Regions from separate parts of the Homo sapiens genome. Here regions 1 and 2 are each linked to region 3. Evidence: promoter capture Hi-C in 16 types of primary human blood cells and fetal thymus (Javierre and others, 2016). All regions are on one chromosome and are shown on one strand. Each heading gives the region's core, a stretch centred on a gene start or on the middle of the fragment in contact. The rest is flanking DNA. Distances are from core to core; before and after follow the strand shown.

Region 1 (2,700 bases), core at 170-2,669, 290 kb after region 3:
GAAAGTACTGAAACATACTACAGCATGGATGAGCCTTGCAACTATTATGTTAAGTGAAAGAAGCTAGTAGCATGTTGTTATGTTCCTAGTTATATGCAACGTCCAGAATCAGCAAATCCATAGAGACAGAAAGTAAATTAGTGGTAGCCAGCGGCTGGGAGTAGGGAGGAATGGGGAGTGACTAATGGGTATGGGGTTTCTTACTGGGATGTCAATGTCTGGAATTAGTGGTGATGGTTGTGTGACTTTGGGAATATATTCAAAACCACTGAATTATACATTTTGGGAGTAAATTGTATGGCATGTGAATTGTATGTCAATAAAATAACTAAATTAAAAATGAAATTTCAAGTATAAATCCACTAAAAATTCAGAATCTGCCATACTTTTGATTGATTCGTTTTGCTTACTCTTGAGGGCCTATCAATGTTTACTGACTAAATGCAAAGAGGGAGAAATAAAGGAGAGGTGAAGGCTGGGAATTCTGGGGATGGAGAGCACTTTTTTTTTTTTTTTCTTAGAGTCGTGCTCTGTCGCCCAGGCCAAAGTGCAGTGGCATGATCTCGGCTCACTGCAACCTCAGCTTCCCGGGTTCAAGGATTCTCCTGCCTCAGCCTCCCGAGTAGCTGGGATTACAGGTGCACGTCACCACGCCCAGCGAATTTTTTTGTATTTTTTAGTAGACATGGGGTTTCACCATGTTGGCCAGGCCGGTGTTGAACTCCTGGCCTCAAGTGATCCACCCATCTCGGCCTCACAAAGTGCTGGGATTATAGGTGTGAGCCAGTGCACCCGGTCGAGGGCACTATTTATTTATTTATTTTTGAGACAGGGTCACACTCTGTAGCCTGGACTAGAATGCAGTGGCTCAATCTCTGCTCACTGCCGCCTCGACCTCCAGGGCTCAGGCGATCCTCCTACCTTAGCCTCCAGAGTAGCTGGGACTACAGGCGCGCGCCATCGCGCCCAGCTGATTTTTTTTTTTTTTTTTTTTTTTTTTTGGTGAAAACAGAATTTCACTGTATTGCCCAGAACTCCTGGGGTCAACTGATCTACCTGTCTCGGCCTCCCAAAGTGTGAGGATTATAGGCCTGAGCCACTGCGCCTGGCCGACGAGCACTTTTAAAATGCAGGAGTCTTCCTGCCTCTGATATCTCATCCCTTATCACCATGCAAACAATTCTCCTTTTCATAGAAGAGTAGACATTTGGGGCGGGGTGGTGGTGGTGGGGGATTTTAGAAAATATCTACTGCATCCAAATGCCCTACTCTACAGACGAAAAAGCAAGGCCCAGGAGGAGGAAAGAGTTTGCTTACTGCCACCCAGTGAGCTGGCAAAGGCGCTGAGATTCAAAATGAGCTTTCCTGCCTTCACATATCTTCCGGCTGCCCTTTGCCTATTCCCTAAACAGTCAGGAGCCATCAAGTTCAGGAATTTGCAGGTGTGCTTCGCTGTGAACTGTGGAAAAGCAGCGTCTTCTCCCCAGAGGCAAGCATGTCGCCTTGTGAAGTTTGATGGCTCTTCACTTGCACACTCACAAAAAAGACTGAGCGTGTGTAACGCCCTGCTGGATGTGTGCGGTGCTAGAGAGCTTGGGGGTGAGGGGAGGACTCTCTCCCTTAAGAAAATCAGTTGACTGCAGAGCTAACATTGTTTTTTGAGTAATACCTGGTTTTTATAAAGTCGTCCCTTCAGTTCCCAAGCTCCTCTTCTGTTTGTTCAAGCCACCTTCAATTTGAAAAAGACTGAAGTCACAGCTTCTCAATCCCTACTAATTTCTCATGGACCTACTGGATTGCTCCAAATCGAGTATTTGGGACTGAACTAGGAAGCCAGTTCAATCCTGAGCCCCCGAGGCAGGCGTTGGGTCTTCTGTGGAGTCCCCAGAGACCTGCAACCTTCTGAACACGCATCCTCCCCTTTCCGCCGAGGACTCTGTCCTGCAGCCGAGCCAGGGCGAATGCACGGAGGTCACAAGGGAGGTGCCCTTGGAGGCGGGAGGTTTCTGGCCGCCGGGGCGACCGTGCTGACGAGGCACCTGCAGGAAACAGAGCTCTGCACGCTCCGGTCCCCCTCACCCGGGGAGGGAGAGGAGGTACAGAGGCGCTGGGGGAGGACGTCGAGCAGGCCAGCCTCGTTGCCAGAACCCCCGCCCCAGCCGGAGATGGGAGCACCGCACCGTCTCACGGGGGCTGGATTTCTTCTCCCCTTGCGGGTGTGTGTGCGAGGATGGACGTGGTAAATACGGGTTGGCAGAAGGAGCGAACCGCGGTGGAGGAAGTTCTTCTGCTTAGTTCTCGCCGCGGCGAGGCCCGCGGGCCAGGCGCGGCGACGAAGGTGCACGAAGGTGCCCCGCGGGCCTGGTGGAGTTGCAGCGGCGCGCAGGCGCACTGAGGGCCGCCCGCGGCCGGCTCCGCGGTACAAAGAGCGCCCCCGCGGGGAGCCGGGCGTCCTCTGGGCGGAGGGAGCAGCCGGGGCTTCGCCGGCCCGCGCCGTTCTTCTCACGCGCCGCTCCGGGGCGCAGCCACAGCTGTCGCCCACCGCGGGTGAGAGGCTTGCTGGTCCGCCCCGGCTTCCCCGCCCCGGCGGCGGCCGTGCGGTTCGGGCTTTAATTCTGGCGCTTGCCAGCCGGGGCCGACTCCGCCCCCTGCGCCCCGCCCTTCCCCGAGCTCCGGGTCCGCGGCGGAGCGAGCGAGCGG
Region 2 (2,700 bases), core at 114-2,613, 260 kb after region 3:
TCATAAATTTGCAGTTGAAGTATCAGGCAGAGAAATGATAACCAGGTGAAAGACCCCTAATGGGACATCATGACATCACAGCTCTGTGATCATCAACCATAATCCCTAGAGGGTCACCTAGAGTTATCCTACAATGAGGCTTACTTGGGTTTTCTGATAGGTATAATACTGAGAAAATTTGCTATGGTTAGCTATGGGTATTCACCACTTATTTTAGTGTATATCATCCCCCAACAAACCACAGGCACCTGTGATCATCTGGGTATGTGTTCAGGAACTATCTTGCACCCAGAAAGAACAAGAATTTTTTTTTTTTTTTTGAGACAGAGTCTCTCTCTGTCACCAGGGTGGAATGCAGTGGCACAATCTCAGCTCACTGCAACCTCTGCCTCCATGGTTCAAGTGATTCTCCTGCCTCAGCCTCCTGAGTAGCTGGGACTGCAGGCATGTGCCACCACACCTAGCTAATTTTTGTATTTTTAGTAGAGACAGGGTTTCACCATGTTGGCCAGGATGGTCTCGATCTCTTGACCTTGTGATCTGCCCACCTCGGCCTCCCAAAGTTCTGGGATTATAGGTGTGAGCCAGTGTGCCAGCCAAGAATTAATTTCAACATTAGACTCAGCCAGAGTTAATGAAGAAGCTTTCCCCACATGATGGCTCCTCACAAGAAATACTATCTATTTATAATATTCATTGGCTTTACTTGTCTTTACCAAGCCTTCCTGAGTGTCATCAGTGGGTGAGTGAGTGTATGGATAGGTACCTGCCTATCTGTCTGCCCATGGTGATGAACACATCACTGTAGGTCAGCAATGACATTGAGTCTAAATGCTGTTGGCCATAAGGAAAATAGTGACATTCCCTGGCTCAGAGGAAATGCTGGTAGGAAAGCCATATGGACTAGTATTTATAAGTACAAGCTCAGGGGTCAAAGATGCTGAAGTTCAATGCCTTGTCCTGTCTCTTACTAATTAGTGATATTGGACATATTGATTAATTGCATAAGTATGTTTCTCACTTATCTATAAAATGAGATGTATGAGGGCTAAATGAAATGATGCATGTGAAAAACTGAACAAGGTGCCAGGCCTAGGACAAGGGCTCAATAAATGTCAGCGATTATTTTATTTGATGAACAAAAGAAGGCAAATGTTCTTTCTTTGATGCCCCCTATCTTTTCCCTGTGTCGTTTCTCTAAAAAAGTATATGTGTGTAATTTCTATGCCTTCCCTCCACTCTCCCATTATCTACCACTTCATCATCCTCTCACTACCCATGGCCACTTTCCCTCATTATCTTTTCTATATTTCTTCCCTCCTCCCCTGAAATGGGGTTGAGCAGGGGGAGATCAGAGGATGAGAAAAGGCAGGGAGACATTGGTGGCAGGGTGACAATGGAGCACCACAAGCTGTCTAGGCCATCTAGACTTTCCCTGAGGACACTTCAGTATCTCTGAGAATACCATTTTCTCAGGACTCCTCACACTGGGAGAAACCTTAGCAATCATCTGATGGTGTACTTGTTACAGTAGATAGGCAGACATGTGCAGTGCAGGAGAGGGCCCCCCACCCTGACCAGGAATGTCAGGTGACCATCAGGTGATGGTCACATGGTTGTTACACCGTCTCTCTCAAATAATAACTGGTTGCAGCCAGCACCAGGGAAAGGCAGTCTCCAAATAGATAGGAAAAACCTGAAAGTGACAATCAGCAGCTTCACAATAAGATCTCAGGAATTGGGCAGGTGGGCTCAAGCATGTGCACTAAGAGGCAAAGTGGCGGAGTTTAATTGGTAAATGACCTTCCTGTAGGAATGCTACGCTGGTAAGGGAAGAAAGCCTCAAGAAAGCATCTGTACCATTCCAGCAAATACACTGTGCATGCTCCCCTCCCAAATGCTAGCAGGCCACTGCACATATGGACAGCCCACCCCAAGGGAAGAATTGGGAGAAGTAACCCAAGACCCCGAAAGTATGCCAACCTGTAAGACCGCAAGTCAAAGGTCAAACTGTGCACTTGATCTCACAAGGTGCCCACTCGGCCCTCTTCCAAATATACTCTACTTCCTTTCATTCCTGCTCTGAAGCTTTTTAATAAATTTTCACTCCTGCTTGAGGACTAAGCTCTGATCTTTTCTTATCTTCCAAATTCCTATCTAGGGGGTCTGGGGAGTTATGCCCTACAAACCAAAAATTCTCATCAGATGGGTTTTATTTAACCCTATATATTGTGACTTTTTAGTCTGACTCTGGCATAATATTACATGACAAAATCAAAATATTTTATCCCATAACATGTCTCTTTGGCATATTTTGAAATGGCCCTGCAAAGCCATCCTTTGTAGGGGAAAATTTGCATCTGTAAAGAATCTCTGTTAACATAGCTAGATATTTTTCTTCCAGGCGCTCCCATCTGAAGAGATTAAGAGTCTAGCACCTTTTTAAAATTATTTATTTATTTATTTATTTTTGAAACAGAGTCTCACTCTGTTGCCCAGGCTGGAGTGTAGCGTCGCCATCTCAGCTCACTGCAACCTCTGCCTCCTGGGTTCAAGCCATTCTCCTACCTCAGCCTCCCGAGTAGCTGGGATTACAGGTGCCTGCCACCACACCCGGCTAATTTTTGTATTTTTAACAGAGACAAGTTTTCGCCACATTGACCAAGCTAGTCTTGAACTCCTGGCCTCACTGTGATCCAC
Region 3 (2,700 bases), core at 201-2,700:
AGCCACATGTGTAATTTTACATTTTTAAAAATGCAAACCACATTTTTAAAAGGGGAAAACAAACAGGTGAAATTAACTTTAATAATATATTTTTTATATCCAAAGTATCATTTAACATGCAATCAACATGAAAATCATTAACAAGACATTTTACACGATGTTTTCTGCGCTGTCTTTAAATTCCAGTGTACATTTTACACATCCAGCAGTGGGCAATTCAGACTAACCATAATGCCGAGTGGTCAATAGCCACATGTGGCTAGTGGCTATCATATTAAATAGTGCAGGTTTGAACCAAAAATACTTCGCTTTGGTTGTTTTTTTTTTTTTCTTTTAGACGGAGACTTGCTCTGTCGCCAGGCTGGAGTGCAGTGGCAGATCTCGGTTCACTGCAAGCTCCGCCTCCCGGGTTCAAGTGATTCCCCTGCCTCAGCCTCCCAAGTAGCTGGGACTAAGGCGTGCGCCACCACGCCCGGCTAATTTTTTGTATTTTAGTAGAGACGGGGTTTCACCACGTTGGCCAGGATGGTCTCGATCTCCTGACCTCGTGATGCGCCCGCCTCGGCCTCCCAAAGTGCTGGGATCACAGGCGTGAGCCACCGCGCCCGGCCTGCTTTGGTATTTTTTAAGAGCAAGTTGGTAAATGGAGGCATTATATGGAGAGTGCTCGAGTATATATAGCACAGGTTAGAGCAGCACGCCGGCACCTTGAAGCGAACACGGGCTCCTCCACTCCCGTCAACACTGGGACTTTTCTGTTTTTATCTTGAGTTTGAGGCCGGGCTTCTTAGCAGACCTCAGTCTGAAACTGAAATAAACCTGGACGCAGCGTACCCTTGAATCGCAAGAACGCCGCCTTCAGTGTTTCTCCGGAGAAAAGCATTCACGCCAGGTTGTGACGAAAACATTTTTTGAGAACTCATAATGTTTATTCCTTGGATGAATCCATTATATTTATTTAGTGTCTCAGGAAGGATGATGGGCATATTGCTTGCAAAAGTTGATTTGAATCCTGATAGATTCCACTAACTTTTTTGTCTTTTTTTTTGGCTGCCTTCTTCGAGAATGGTGTCAACCCTTAATAACACCTAGCCTTACGAATCCCTGGGGTGATTCCCGACCTCGCCAGCTTTGTGGGGCTCCCCCGACTTGCCTACATTCCCTGGCAGCCTCGCAGCTTCGGGCAGATGGAGCTTCCGGCCTGCGCGCAGTGGTCGCCTGTCGTCCGCCCGCGCTCCCTTCGGCCGGAGGTCGGCGGCCCCGGGCAGAGCGCGCCGTCTGCCCCAGTATCGGGAGGCCAGTTCCGCGCTGGGCCCACGCCCTCCTCGCCCGCCGCTGCCTGCGCGCCAGGCCGGGTGGCGGAGCCGGCCGTCGCTGCTCCGAGCTCGGACCCTCCCCCGGGGTGATTTCGGCTTAGAAGGTGGAAATGCGGAAGTTTCCAGCGCCGACCGACAGACGAGGTTTGCGCTTGGCTGGGCATGTTCCGCGGCTACTCTGCGGCGCGCCAGGCCCCCGCTTTCCGCACCCCGCGACCCTAGAAGCCACCGAACCGCCGGCGGGCCATGGCCACTCTGCCGAGCGCAGAGCGCCGCGCGTTCGCGCTCAAGATCAACAGGTAAGACGCCCCCCGCGGCGCGCAGGTTGCGGCCGGACAGCCCAGCGCTGGTGTGAAGCGGAGCTTCGCTGCAGGGGCCGAGGCCGGACGAGTCCATTCGCGTCCGCGGCGGGGCGCGCCTGAGACCTGGGGCGCCCGGTTCCCGAGGCTGCGGCGGTGGAGCCGCTGGACGCGCGGCGGCTCCTGCGCTGGGCCCGGCGAGGTCCTCCCCAAGAATCTCGGTGCTCCTGGATGTCCTCAGCCGCCGGGGATCCCTTCCCCGAACAACCTCGCCCGCTCCGCCCTCCAGGTTCTTACAGGTGGCCGGGTCCCAGAAGGGTGATAGGCGCCTGGGTAACCGTGTTGGGCGCGCCACGGAGTGTCTCATAAACGGCTCCTTCCTTTGAGGCAAGTCTGAGCGCGGGGGGAAGAAGTGAAGTGGCTGAAATTAGAGTTGCGTTTGAGGCAGGCTGCAAGCCTTCTGTCGTCCTGAGCAAGGCTCCGTCCTCGCCTGCTTCATTATTCCAGAAAGAGCTTGGCTCCTGGTGGCATCGCTATTTTTATACCCTGGTCCAAAGGAGCCATGAAGTGGAAAAAGTGATTTTTTAAAAAATCTACACTTAAATAAACCAAAAGAAATGGCCTGTGGCTGACATTTTGAGATTTACAGAACTCCAGCAAAAAGCTAAGGACTGGGGGATCCCAACTCACCATCCAATTCCTAATCAAAGTTGCACAAACTAAATATGTAAGCACATTTACTGCTCAAAGTTCTCAGTAAAGGTGCTTTAACTGCAGTTTTTCCTCCACTAAAAACTGCTGACAAGTAATTGGGACATTTTTGTCTTGCCCTGAGAAAGCTAGACTGTCTAGTTAAAAGATAATAGGAAACTCATTCTAAAGTGTCAACTTATTCTATTGCCCACAGGGCTGTCCGATTTGTTAATCTTCACTTAGCTGAGCCTGTGAAAGGTGGATTCCACCGTAGGTTCATCTTTGTGCTGTTAGTGTGTGAAGAGGTTTGAACAAGGAATTAAAAGCCTAGAAAAACAAGGCGATAAGGTCTTCTAGAGGGCATATCGAGCTTTATTGACGATTTTATTTCC

The links. Contacts are between HindIII fragments. The CHiCAGO score rates a contact against its expected background, and 5 or more counts as called.
Region 1: a contact is called between a fragment that was not itself captured here and the fragment with the promoter of DOCK8 in region 3, in 2 of 17 cell types (neutrophils and erythroblasts). The highest score is 7.2, in neutrophils.
Region 2: a contact is called between a fragment that was not itself captured here and the fragment with the promoter of DOCK8 in region 3, in 1 of 17 cell types (neutrophils). The highest score is 10.6, in neutrophils.

The regions. Positions count from the first base shown.
Region 1 is chr9:502,028-504,727 of GRCh38, forward strand. KANK1 (KN motif and ankyrin repeat domains 1) reads left to right here and starts at 2,668. Exons shown (of 12, transcript NM_015158.5): 1 at 2,668-2,700. It overlaps LOC105375947 (translation initiation factor IF-2-like), which reads right to left. Exons shown (of 4, transcript XM_047424276.1): 3 at 1,670-2,700. The coding sequence ends at 1,973. RefSeq lists a silencer at 2,304-2,700. The HindIII fragment of the contact is 4,681 bases long and covers 1-2,700 here.
Region 2 is chr9:473,399-476,098 of GRCh38, forward strand. It overlaps a transcript of KANK1 not described here. Among named protein-coding and RNA genes, the nearest start is that of DOCK8-AS2, 4.6 kb to the left of the region's middle. The HindIII fragment of the contact is 1,445 bases long and covers 642-2,086 here.
Region 3 is chr9:213,415-216,114 of GRCh38, forward strand. DOCK8 (dedicator of cytokinesis 8) reads left to right here and starts at 1,451. Exons shown (of 48, transcript NM_203447.4): 1 at 1,451-1,615. The coding sequence starts at 1,563. DOCK8-AS1 (DOCK8 antisense RNA 1) reads right to left here and starts at 2,336. Exons shown (of 1, transcript NR_160804.1): 1 at 43-2,336. RefSeq lists silencers at 1,206-1,455, 1,466-1,515, 1,566-1,615, 1,786-1,925. The HindIII fragment of the contact is 3,855 bases long and covers 1-2,700 here.